4 separate regions of the Homo sapiens genome follow, and regions 1, 3 and 4 are each linked to region 2. The links are contacts of gene promoters, found by promoter capture Hi-C in human tissues and cell types (Jung and others, 2019). All regions are on one chromosome and are shown on one strand. Each heading gives the region's core, a stretch centred on a gene start or on the middle of the fragment in contact. The rest is flanking DNA. Distances are from core to core; before and after follow the strand shown.

Region 1 (2,884 bases), core at 80-2,579, 370 kb before region 2:
AGATGTGGCAACTAAAAGATTATTCAAGGGGTGATACCCCAGGTGGAGGAATATCATGAGTAACTGAGAGCTAGAGAGAGATCAGGGACTCAAAAGAAGTACAGTTGACCCTCAAACGACCCGGGTTTCAATTGATCAGGTCTATTTCTGTGTGGATTTTCTTCTGCCTCCTGCCACCCCAGAGACAGCAAGACCAACCCCTCTTCCTCTTCCTCCTCAGTCTATTCAACATAAAGATGATGAAGATAAAGACCTTTATGATGATCTACTTCCACTTAATGAAAAGTAAATGTATTTTCTCTTTCTTATGATTTTCCTAAAAACATTTTCTTTTCTTTATATAATACATATACAAAGTGTTAGTCAACTGTTCATGTTATTGGTAAGGCTTCCAGTCAAGAGTAGGCTATTCGGCCAGGTGCAGTGGCTCACGCCTGTAATCCCAGCACTTTGGGAAGCCAAGGCAGGCAGATCACTTGAGGTCAGGAGTTTGAGACCAGCCTGGACAACATAGTGAAATCTCATCTCTACTAAAAATAAAAAAATTAGCCAGATATGGTGGCACACGCTTGTAATCCCCGCTACTTGGGAGGCTGAGGCAGGAGAATCACTGGAACCTGGAAGGCAGAGGTTGGAGTGAGCCGAGGTCATGCCATTGCACTCCAGCCTGGGTGACAGAGTGAGGATCTGTCTCAAAAAAAAAAAAAAAAAAAAAAAAGTCGGCTATTAGTAGTTAAGTTTTGGGGGCGTCAAAAGCTATATACCAGTTTTCTTCTGTGTGGGGGTGTTGGTGCCCCTACTCCCTATCTTGCTGAAAGGCCAACTGTATTTCAGAGTAAGACAAGTGACTTCCAGGGAGGGATCCCCTCTTTTCAGCAGAGGGATTCTGTCTGTAAGTACTGTGCTAACACTACTGGTGGAAACATGGCTGCTGAAAACTGAGTAGAGTTTGACCTTATATTTTGACTCAGAAATTAAAGATGCACTGTTTAAGTGGCACTGAGTATGCCCAGCTTTCGTTGTAAAATTGAGTTAATTACATTTGCCTATTCACAAAGACTTATGCAGTAACAACAGCAAGCTTTATATTTCTTGAAAAAAAGAAATATGGAGTCTGCAAAGGGGTAGGACCATTCCTCTTTAACCCTCCTTGGATTGCAGACTGCTAAGAATGTAGACTGGCTTCATGTGCTCTATCATTTTTGAAGATCTCAGTTAGTAGCATTTACATTAACTGTCTGAAAGGAAAAAATTAAACCTTCCTTTTAAATATTGCTTGTCATTGAGTTCCTCTCTAATCCTTAGGCAAATTGTGCATTGTTGATCTAGTTCCACAAGACAATTTCTGAATCAAAACTCTGAATATGATATAGCCACTTATTTAAGGAACATTGACCCCAAAGAAAGATCATAATGTGGAAACATATTGGAGAATAAAACATTTAACTCTCTTGTTTCTGTTATTCTGATGTGCTGGCAAGTACTAGTTAGAATAATTGGCAAGGACTAGTGAGAAATGCTATTTAGACTTAGGAAACCTACAAAACTATATCCCACTGGAAAGGTAAATATGTCATGTTATGTGTCCAACAATAATAGCTATAACAAGAACATCTGAGACTTTTCCCTGGGCTTTAAACCACTTAAGTAATTTTCTTCAAAATATTAATTTTCTGATGTAATGTTCTCTGTCACTCTCTTTCATTGGGAACTGAGTTGAATGTACCCAAGTGCATTAAAAAATGCTCTAAAGATGTCACCATTGAAGAAACGTTATCCTATAATTTCAATATTTGTTGTTCAAAAATACTTTAATGTTATTTTTTATTCATACATCTAAGCATCCATCCAGGGTTGTAATGGTGGTTAACAGCCAGAAAAGGTGACCAAAACTTACAGTCTTGTTTTCTTCAGGAATTCACTGTCTTGCATCAGATAATATTTTTAGGTTTTTATTATTTAAAAATAAATACTGGAACATCAATAAAAAGATACCATCACCAACCTACCATTGATTTGTCCTTTGTTATAATTGGCAAGCTGAAGCAGAAATAAAGTGCTTCAATTCAAGAGAAGTGACACTAATGATGGTGATAGAAGAATGAAAAGCAAATAAGAAGTAGAATTTGAAGTGACATGAATAATTTTACTGACTAGTGTTAGATACAGAAACCTCTTCCCCAATGCTATTGCTTTGCTGTGCTTTTTCATTATAATTTTTTTTCTTCTCAACCACTATTGGTATACCAATGTTGAATTAAAAAAAAGATTTACACTGTAAGTATAGGCTTCTTTGGGGCTCAGAAAGTAGCTTTTCATTGTTTGCTGTTTATACACACGTCTCCTTACAAAAAAATATTTACAGTTATTTAAGAATTTGGATATAATATATCACTTCAGTAAAATTTGAAAAAATTTAGCATTTTAAAGTTAAAATATTAAAATGTTTTCTTAGTTTAGATACTAAAGATTATTACTATAATGTAATTGTGTATCATGTAATTATGTCTTGGAAGATTGAATCAATTGGTATTTGAAAAGGTTTATAGGTAAAGTTTTTAGAAGATTACGTTTCTAGAGTTTTTTATGCAGTGGAATTTCTGATGCTACAGTAAATTAAAAAGTTGGATGATTTTCATGTGATATCTTATTTCACTAATACAGAACAACCTTGAACCGCACTAGAGCAATAATTACTTAACCTAAATCAGAGACCAAGCCAGGCCAAACAGCTGTTTTCATTTTGTTAGGAGATCCATTTGATTTACTCTTTTAGTCAGCTTTCATTACTGTAGAAGACAAAACTTCACTTGAGTTTTTAACCCTGAATTCTCTGCCTTGTTTGCTGCCTGCTATAAAATTGCATGGTTGAGCTGCCACAGCC
Region 2 (2,700 bases), core at 45-2,544:
GATGTGTTTCACCACGGTGGGGGTAGTGACCCGGGGCTTGCTGCCCCCGATGGCTCCTGGCAAGATCGAGCCCGTCTCGTTGTATCGCGCCAGGATCTTGCTGACGCAGCCGTGCGAGACCCGTAGCTGGCGGCTGATGTCACACGGTCGGATGCCCAGTTGGGCCAGTTCCACGATGCGAAGCCGGATGGCGTTGGGCAGCGGCCTCCCGTTCACGAACACTCCTCCCAGCTGGTTCACCTCCCCGAAGGCTGGCTCTGCAAAATGAACACACAGCGCGCAGGGACGCGCACCCGCTGCTTGGGACAGCTGCCTGCCACTGGGCCTCCCTACGCATCCGGGGACTGGGCGAACGCACCCGTCCCCTACTAACTACTGGGGCTGTCCCCAAACCATATGGTCCCTGAACATAGCCGAACGGCCCCAAACCGTCACTGTCCAATCGGACCCCCTCCCTCATTCCTGCCGTGCCGGAGGCCCCTACGGCCAAGTAAAGTGGTGAGATGCCGGGCCTCTCCGAGCGTTCAAAAGTCTCCCGAAGCAGGGGGAGAAATCGGTCTTGACGCCTGAACGTGCTCCTTCTCGCCTGCTCCTCACTAAAGTCCTTGAGCCGCTCCCTCTCTCCACCCATCCCATCCCCAGCGTTCCTTCTGGAGACCCGGCCAGTTAAACAAAGTCTAGGGGAAGCTAGAGGGTGTTTTATTTGTTGTTGTTTGTTTTCTTTTCTTTTCTTTTCCTGTTTTGTTTGCATGTGTGCGCGCGTGTGAAACAAAACTTGGTTTGCTACTCGGGCTGAGGGGCTCGCTGATGCCACAGCTCCCTTCTCTTAAAATCAGAAAATGGCATCAACAGCCACCCAGTAGCCAGCGTTCACATTGAACTGCTGTGCGCCGCTGACCCTTAGCGTGTTCCTACAACTTGTAGGAACACGAGCAAAGTCAATAGAGAATGTGAGCGCCTAGTGGCGCGCGCCCTCGCGCTCCCTCCCTCCCTCCCTCCCTTGCCCGCTCGCTCCCTCCCTCCCTTCCCGGCTCTGACAGAGTCCCCCGCCGCCACTCACCCATTGCTCCGAGCAGTACACCAACCCGGCCCCAGTTCCGCACTCCCAGACAGAAACTTTCCGCACCGCCTCAGTGGCCCGGCCTGTTGCTATCCCGGCCGACCGCCGGCGCCTCCGCTTCTTCCCAGGAGGAGGAGGCGAGAGGGCAAAAGGAAGAAGTAAAAGGAAGTCTGTGCCCCGATGAAAGAGGCTTGAGTTCTGCATTTCAATCTAAGCAGCAACGTGGGCTGGGCTGAGCAGGGCAGGGCGGCTCCGTCTATCACTCACTGGGGACACGCCCTAAAAGGGGCGGGTCCGAGGGCAAGCTGCATGGTGATTGGTGCGGGTCGGTGAGCGACAGCGCAGTCCAGGAAACTCCTTCCGCTGTCTCTTTCAGGCTAGCTCCCCACCTGGGTGACTAAATACAATGAAAATGGGTGTTTGACATCTTCCCAGAAGCGGCACAAAAAGACAGCAAAATCAGGCTGGTAAAATGCTGAATAAACAAATGAAAGCGTTTGGTCTGAATGTGAATGACTCGAAGGGAGAAGGGGCCCGAGGAGACCTCCTCCGGGGAACGATGGACATCTCAGAATTGAAGTTAAGGCTATAGGTGGGAGGCGGGCGCCACCGTGCACAGGGGTGAGGGAGTTGTCTTAGCAAAATCTGTCATGCGGGCCTCTGGGGACTGTCAGGAGAGGATCTGTGTCACCTGCCGATTCTACCTCACTTCAGTCCATGCCAGGTGGCGAGAGCGCAGGTGTGAGAAGATAGGCCGGCCAAAGAAACCAGGAGGTTGCGGGGAGCCCGAGCCACAGGTGGGGGCCACTGTTAAGGCCAGGGAGGTTCCTCCTACCGCCAGCTTCCTGCGGCGACCCCCCAGTCCAGGTGGACCGGCCAACCACTAGCCACACAGGCTCGAGGCACGGGCCACGCCGTGTGCGGGGAACTGAACCACAGGCGGCTAACGCTAGCGCACAGCCCCAAGTCGACCAATTGCCAGTGCGTGGGGCACTCACTACGGAGCCCAAGGCTCTGCCACATTCAGCCACTGTCCTGGGCCCCTGGCCCTCGGTGGCAGCGTTTGTGAGGGTTCTCCAAACCAGCGAGCCCTCTCGAAAGAGTTTTGTTTAAATATGAAAGAGACTTAGTCCCAAGACAGTGGACACCGACGCTGCACATGGATGTAATTCCCTCGTCTTCCATTAAGCTCCAGAGGCCCTGTCGTTCTGCCTACTTCTGAATTTTCACTTTTATTCACTGTAAGTCTAATCTAAAGTGTACCGTATGCTTTTTTGCAGCCAAAGTTATTAATATTTGCAGTTAGGGTTGTGGAGAATGTGAATCAAAATAATAAACAAGAAGAGAAATATTTTCGTGAATTTGGGAGTTTGTACTGCTTGGGGTCGTGAACTCTGTTACTGCTACTTGACAATCCAGAAGGCTCCTTGTGCACACAGGATTCAGGCTGCTTCCCCAACAGTCCCCAGGGATGTGTGTGGCTGCGGTCTACACCCAGAGAAGCTGACTGGTCCCAGATCTCAGGTCAGTAAGTTGCAAGAACCCAGGAAAAAACTATGATCAGCCATGCTTCTGCAAAGGAACAGATCTCCAGATTCCCACTTCTATGGTTAGGATGCACTCTAAATTCAAAATTACCT
Region 3 (2,851 bases), core at 288-2,787, 490 kb before region 2:
TTACTAGAGGTCTGATTTTTGGGCCTCTAGGTGGCTTGCTCAGATGTTGATAATGGCAGCAGTAAACTGGGTCATAGAGTGTGTTTTCAATCACCTGGCAGCCAGTATAGCATGGATGATGGCAGAAGCTGTAGTGGGATGATTCTCTGGGTCCTGAGTGGTGTGTGTTCATGTTGACAGTAGATGTGATGTGCTGGGTGGGGAAGTCTCCAGTCCTGCAGGTGGGGCTTGCAGATAGGTCAGCTGAGGAGATAGCAGTCGAGACCCTGGGCTATGTGCTCTGTTAAGGTGGGAGAAGTGAAGGAGCGAAGCTAGGCTCGTGGGGCTTGTGGTGAGAGCAGGCACCAGCTGTGGTGGCCAGGATGATCCTTAGGCCTCAGGCTAAGTGCTTGTGTTAGAGACAGTAGCAGCCATGCTGAGGCCCCACCACTGGAGAGGGAGCTGCTGTCTTTGTGGCAACAGCCTGGGCCAGTGGGTAGGGAATGCACGTTTCTTTCTAGCCCCAGTCCTGGGGGTTCACCCCCTACCCTGGCAGTGGTAGCTGATGCTTAGCTTGTTCCCCCACCCCAGCTGTAGGAGCACCCACCCAACTCGCAACCAAGTCCCACCAGCAACTCATTCTGCTCACTTACATGCCAGTCTCTGTCCTGACAGCACCCGCTTCCTGGCACTGGCTGCTGCAGCTCATGTCTTGCTTGCTTCTTATCCCTGGCTGTGGGAATGCTCCCATCTTACTCCTCATTCCAGCAGTGATAACTTGAGCTTTTGTAATGTCTCAGTCTTGGTGCTGCTGGCCTGAAGGACAGTGTGCAGTTTATGAGAGGCTAGCTTTGAAAATGGCACCTTCCTGTAGCTTCTTAGGTCTTATAAATGGTGTGGGAGCTCCCTCCCTGGAGCAGCCCTGTCCCTTCGTCTCCCATCAACTTCCTGTGTTAGTTTCAGGGCTTGGGATGGTCAAGGGGCTCTCCTGTGGCTAGGATTGCATGATCTGATGGTGGGGATGTGGGCTGCTGGAAGTCTGTCACTCACCCTTTCCTCATGTTAGGAAGTCACTCCCAGCTCTTAGCCAGTCCTGACCAGGGATGCTGCCTCTTTTCCTCCTTCCCCACTTTTGGTGTTTCCTGTCTCTTCTGTGTTGAGCATCAGCATTCTGTCTTGGATAACGTATTTGAAGTGTGACTGTCTATATACTATTCCAGTTCTTCTAAGTAGAGCCAGAAAATCCTACTCAACCATCTTGAACCTTTCTCCCCTATTTGATTAGTCTTCTATTGTCTCCACTTTCCCTTTCCTCAAAAATTGATATTCTACATGTTTGTAAGTTTTTTGCTTTACACAGTCTTTTAAAAATTTATTTTAAATTCATTTTATTTAGTTTTTTTCTTCTTGTGTTTTACACATTCTAACTCCCCAAACAAACCCATCCACTCTTTGGCTTCAGTGTTGTCTGTTTGCAGGTGACTTCCAGAACTGTGTTTCTGACTTCTCTGCGCTCTGCAGGCTCACATTTTTAAGGTATATAGCAGAAATAAAATGAAATTAACTGGGCATGGTGGCAGGCGCCTGTAGTCCCAGCTAGTCAGGAGGCTGAAGCAGGAGAATTGCTTGAACCCGGAGCAGAGGTTGCAGTGAGCTGAGATTGTGCCACTGCACTTCAGTCTGGGTGAGAGAGCGAGACTCTGTCAAAAAAAAAAAAAAATTGAAATAAAATGAAATTGAGAGTCAGTGGACGCTAATGGTTTTCAAAGATGTTTCAGAGATATATTTTGAAACTAATATCAGACCTTCAAACAAATTATCATTTTCTCATTTCTATTTTGAGTTCAGTCTTTTCATTCATTCTTTTTGTCATCTTTAGAAGTCACAATGAACTTCCTGGGATATTTGTTTGGGTTGGGTAGATCCTTCCTAACTATCATAGTCAATAAGTATGATAAGATTTTAAAAAGTAAGATAAATCTTATCTTTTGAGTGCTAACATTTACTGAATGCTTACTATGTGCAAAGCATCTTACTTTGCTTAAATAATCTCTATTATTATTATTATTTTTGAGATGGGGTTTCTCTCTGTCGCCCACACTGGAGTGCAGTGAAGTGACCTCGGCTCACTGCAAACCCCTTCTCCTGGGTTCAAGCGTCTCTCTTGCCTCAGCCTCCAAAGTAGCTGGGATTACAGGCACATGCCACCCTGCCCAGCTAATATTTGTATTTTTAGTAGAGACAGGGTTTCACTATGTTGGCCAGGCTCGTCTTGAACTCCTGACCTCAAGTGATCTGCCCGCCTTGGCCTCCCAAAGTGCTGGATTCCAGGCATGAGCCAATTTGTAATTTCTTGAAGATGAGGAAAGTGAAGCTCAGAGAAATTAAATATCTTGTTCAAGGCTGATGACAGACACAGACTCAAACTCTGCTCTTTGCTTTCAAAGCTTGAGCTCTCATCCATTACTCCACCCTGCCTCTTAGTGTGCAGAATGAGAAATCAGGTAAGCAGCCCCTTCAAGTATTGCCCCCATAAGTCTTCTTTTTCTCTCTGGTTATGTTAAATACCACAGCTTTTTCTTGAACTTGAGTGTTAATGAACAAACAGGGTCTGCCCTTGTACAAAAGTCCATTTCTTGTTTTTGCAGATTTTTAAATGCCAGCCATAGCTTAAGTATGAAATTCTCCATATTAACCAGCAGTGCCTCTGTTGGCATTAATGCGGCATCTTTTTTTCTGCCAGATGCTACAGGCAATTGGTCAGGAAGTGGGCCAAGCCTCCACCCTCACGTATTGTTAACTGAATTCGCACACAACTAATAAGATACTGGTGTGACTCAGTAGAGTGAGAGCAACCCAAGAGTGGACAGGA
Region 4 (2,992 bases), core at 463-2,962, 280 kb before region 2:
ACTATATATTTGAGCTAATAAGAGCATGATTTCTAAAAATATGAGATGATTTTTTTCCACTGTTTTGTGATATATTATGGGATAAGATCATTGCTGTCCCTGATCACATGCATTGTAGGAAGGCCCTCTGTGTACTCCCGGAGTTTGGTTTGATACTAAATAGTGTCAATATTTTGAGTAAAGCTTGAGTAAATTTCAGGAACTTTCCGGACCTATGTAGATATAATATATACTGCATAATTCTTTTACTTCCATTCTGATGGTTTCTTTTAATCTGTAGGAGTATTTTTGTGTGAAAAAAAGAAAAAAGAAAGCAATGAAATGCTGTTTAATCTGAAACAGGTTTTTAAGTTCAGTCTCAGAAGCAAGATCAAATGACCTATCCAGTCATTCTATATCTGCAATTCCTTCACAGTACTTTTCTCCAGTTTCTCAGATCAGCCCAAATCTTGGTTGGAATACTGGATTCTGTACTTTGTCCTTTTTCAGTATCAGACAATCGTAATATGGTCAGAGTTCTATCCAACTTCAAAGATGGTCATCTGAAAGTCTGAAATTCTTTGTTGCTGTGAAGTTCAATGAAAAGATTTCAGTGTTGAATTCAACCCAGACCACAGAACGATTAAATTCTTTGTTTTTGATACGTTGCATGGTAAGATATTGTGTAATCGAGTTGCTTGCAACTTTCTGACTTATTTTATTTAGAAAAAAATGACCAGGCTATTAACTATATATGGCAATTAAAGGAAAGTGCATTGAACATCCTGGCAACACATCACTTTTTTCTGTATTTGATTTAGGCCTCTGTAAAAGGACACCCTCATGCCTTTAAAGTTAAAATACTGTCAATCCCACCATAAACTCCTATTTTTAGGAGTTTTGATTTATAATGCAACCTTTAAAAAAAATACCAACCTACATTCAGAGTAGTATATTTTTTTAAATCTTAGAGAAAATTTTATTAAAATATTGGAATAAACATAGTGTCATTTCCTTTAATTTGGAAGAAAATGAATGAAAAAGAATCAGTGGTTTCAAACACATTTTTCTTCCTTTTCAACTCCAAACTAGCTTAGTTATATGGAAAAGTAATGTATGAACAGATTAATTGAAAGGGGCTGCTGGTAGTCGTTGTTAAAGTTGACTGAGTTCAAGTCTAATGATGAAACTTTGCAATACGCAGTTTAGAATATACACGTAACATTCTTTATTAGATTCTCATTCTATAATACTTACATGAGAAAGGAGGCTTGTACATACCTAAGGTGATTTTTAAACTCTGCTCTGGTACACTGCAGACTGCTATTGACGACGAAGATCTCTTTAGCAAATATGACGTGGAGGAGAACGCTGAATGTAAAACAGATATGTGAAACAATTAGAAACCAGATCTTCTTATTTCTGTGAGTTCACATTCGCAGTGACTAAAATTGTGCATGTTTTCCATTCATTCAGTTTTGATTTTGCTCAAGTGGTTCTAATGGCGCTGATTTTTAAGTTCCTGTGTCTTCTGAATCCATTTTATCCCCTTTTAATGAGCTTAATAAAACGTAAGTAGAATGGTTTGTATGCCATTTATTTTTATATGTATTTAAATATTAAATACATTTCCCTCAAATAAACCATTGGTCTTTCTGATATAAAAAGCATTAAAAAATAAAAGGTTTCTCTCACATAGGACAGCAAGAGGAAGATTTTCAAGAAGTTGGGAGAAAGGAGAGAGGTTGGGTTCTGGGAGATTTGACAAAGCTCCAGGTAACCTGGAGATAGTATGTCACAAAGATTTAGATGGACAACAAGATTATGGGTAACAAAAAGGGGACATAAATCATGTTTATTTGACATGGCCATTTAACAAAAAAAATGCTGTCTTAACAAGCAGTGCACATGAGTATATTCTATTTAATCGTATTGCAGTCAAACCCCTCACAAAAGAAAATATGCATGATAGAGAATTCGTATTTACATTCCCCCCCCACCCCTGGCTCCAGCTTATATGATTTGGAAACACAAACTGCTCCCCCAACCCGACTTTTTTTAGAATACAGAAATAAGACTTTCTTTTGTTTTTTCATGGATGAGTCCGACCACAAATTTAGGTTTACTAATGAGTGTTACAAATTAGCTGGGAAACACAAAATTTTGCAACAAAACCTGCCTTTTAAGTAAAGCTGTTATATGAAATTCCAACTCTGCACCAGAGACATGTTTGAGAAGACTTCATTAATTACAAACAGATTTATAATTTAAGCAATAAATTAATGTATCTGAAATACAATTCAGTTTACAGAACTTGGGTTTACATAAAACTTTTCAGAAACACAAGCTGAGAGTAGTGAACAAGAGTAAGCATAAGAGAGTTAAATCTGAATATATTAGAGACTGATTTATTTCAGTGATGCAATAAGAAATATAGATTTCTGAAGTTTTTTGTTTTTGTTTTTGTTTTTTTACTAATTTATGTTTTACTCATTACATATGCCATGTTTGTATACATGTGCCTTAAATTGATTGGTTTTCATCAGGTTTCTGTTGGGAAGTTTATGAGTCTAAGTTATTGTTCAGGAACCAAAATTCTTTGTGGTTGGTCCTGTTTGTTCATTAATTGAATAAAACAACGAGATGTGAACATGATGATCAGATTGGATTTTCTGTGCAATGATCCAGCTGATTGATTGGCAATCATTTATCATGTATTGAAATATCAAAATCAACCAAGCAGAAGAAAGTGTATTTGATTCTGCACATAGACTAAGGCTCAGCGGGATGCAGACTTAGAAGGCCGTAACACAGAGATGACAAGGACACCAAACCTGCTGCTCTGCTAAGGCTGTCCAGAGACTGAGTCTCAAACAGAACTTTGCCCTAATTAATGCACAAGGTGGTCTTTGCCTTATGAAGAGCTGTGTCATCCTGCAATGAGTGAACTCCACCTAATTAGAGTCCTAGATCAGTAGACCCCTGTGGAATCTTAGTTAAAGGCCTGGCACAG

The links. Contacts are between HindIII fragments. The study calls those that stand out against the background at their distance.
Region 1: a contact is called between a fragment that was not itself captured here and the fragment with the promoter of PAX9 in region 2, in 1 of the 25 tissues and cell types used here (mesendoderm cells).
Region 3: a contact is called between a fragment that was not itself captured here and the fragment with the promoter of PAX9 in region 2, in 2 of the 25 tissues and cell types used here (H1 embryonic stem cells and IMR-90 fibroblasts).
Region 4: a contact is called between a fragment that was not itself captured here and the fragment with the promoter of PAX9 in region 2, in 2 of the 25 tissues and cell types used here (H1 embryonic stem cells and mesendoderm cells).

The regions. Positions count from the first base shown.
Region 1 is chr14:37,027,593-37,030,476 of GRCh38, reverse strand. The region is part of intron 1 of SLC25A21 (solute carrier family 25 member 21); the gene reads left to right. Among named protein-coding and RNA genes, the nearest start is that of MIR4503, 77 kb to the right of the region's middle. The HindIII fragment of the contact is 8,550 bases long and covers 1-2,884 here.
Region 2 is chr14:36,660,454-36,663,153 of GRCh38, reverse strand. It overlaps PAX9 (paired box 9), which reads right to left and starts at 1,294. Exons shown (of 4, transcript NM_001372076.1): 1 at 1,061-1,294; 2 at 1-257. The coding sequence starts at 1,064. RefSeq lists enhancers at 1-314, 315-826, a cis regulatory region at 1,591-2,103 and a promoter at 1,363-2,560. The HindIII fragment of the contact is 9,466 bases long and covers 1,210-2,700 here.
Region 3 is chr14:37,151,235-37,154,085 of GRCh38, reverse strand. All of the region lies in intron 1 of SLC25A21 (solute carrier family 25 member 21), which reads left to right. Among named protein-coding and RNA genes, the nearest start is that of SLC25A21-AS1, 19 kb to the left of the region's middle. The HindIII fragment of the contact is 4,167 bases long and covers 1-2,851 here.
Region 4 is chr14:36,938,294-36,941,285 of GRCh38, reverse strand. All of the region lies in intron 1 of SLC25A21 (solute carrier family 25 member 21), which reads left to right. Among named protein-coding and RNA genes, the nearest start is that of MIR4503, 13 kb to the left of the region's middle. The HindIII fragment of the contact is 4,308 bases long and covers 1-2,992 here.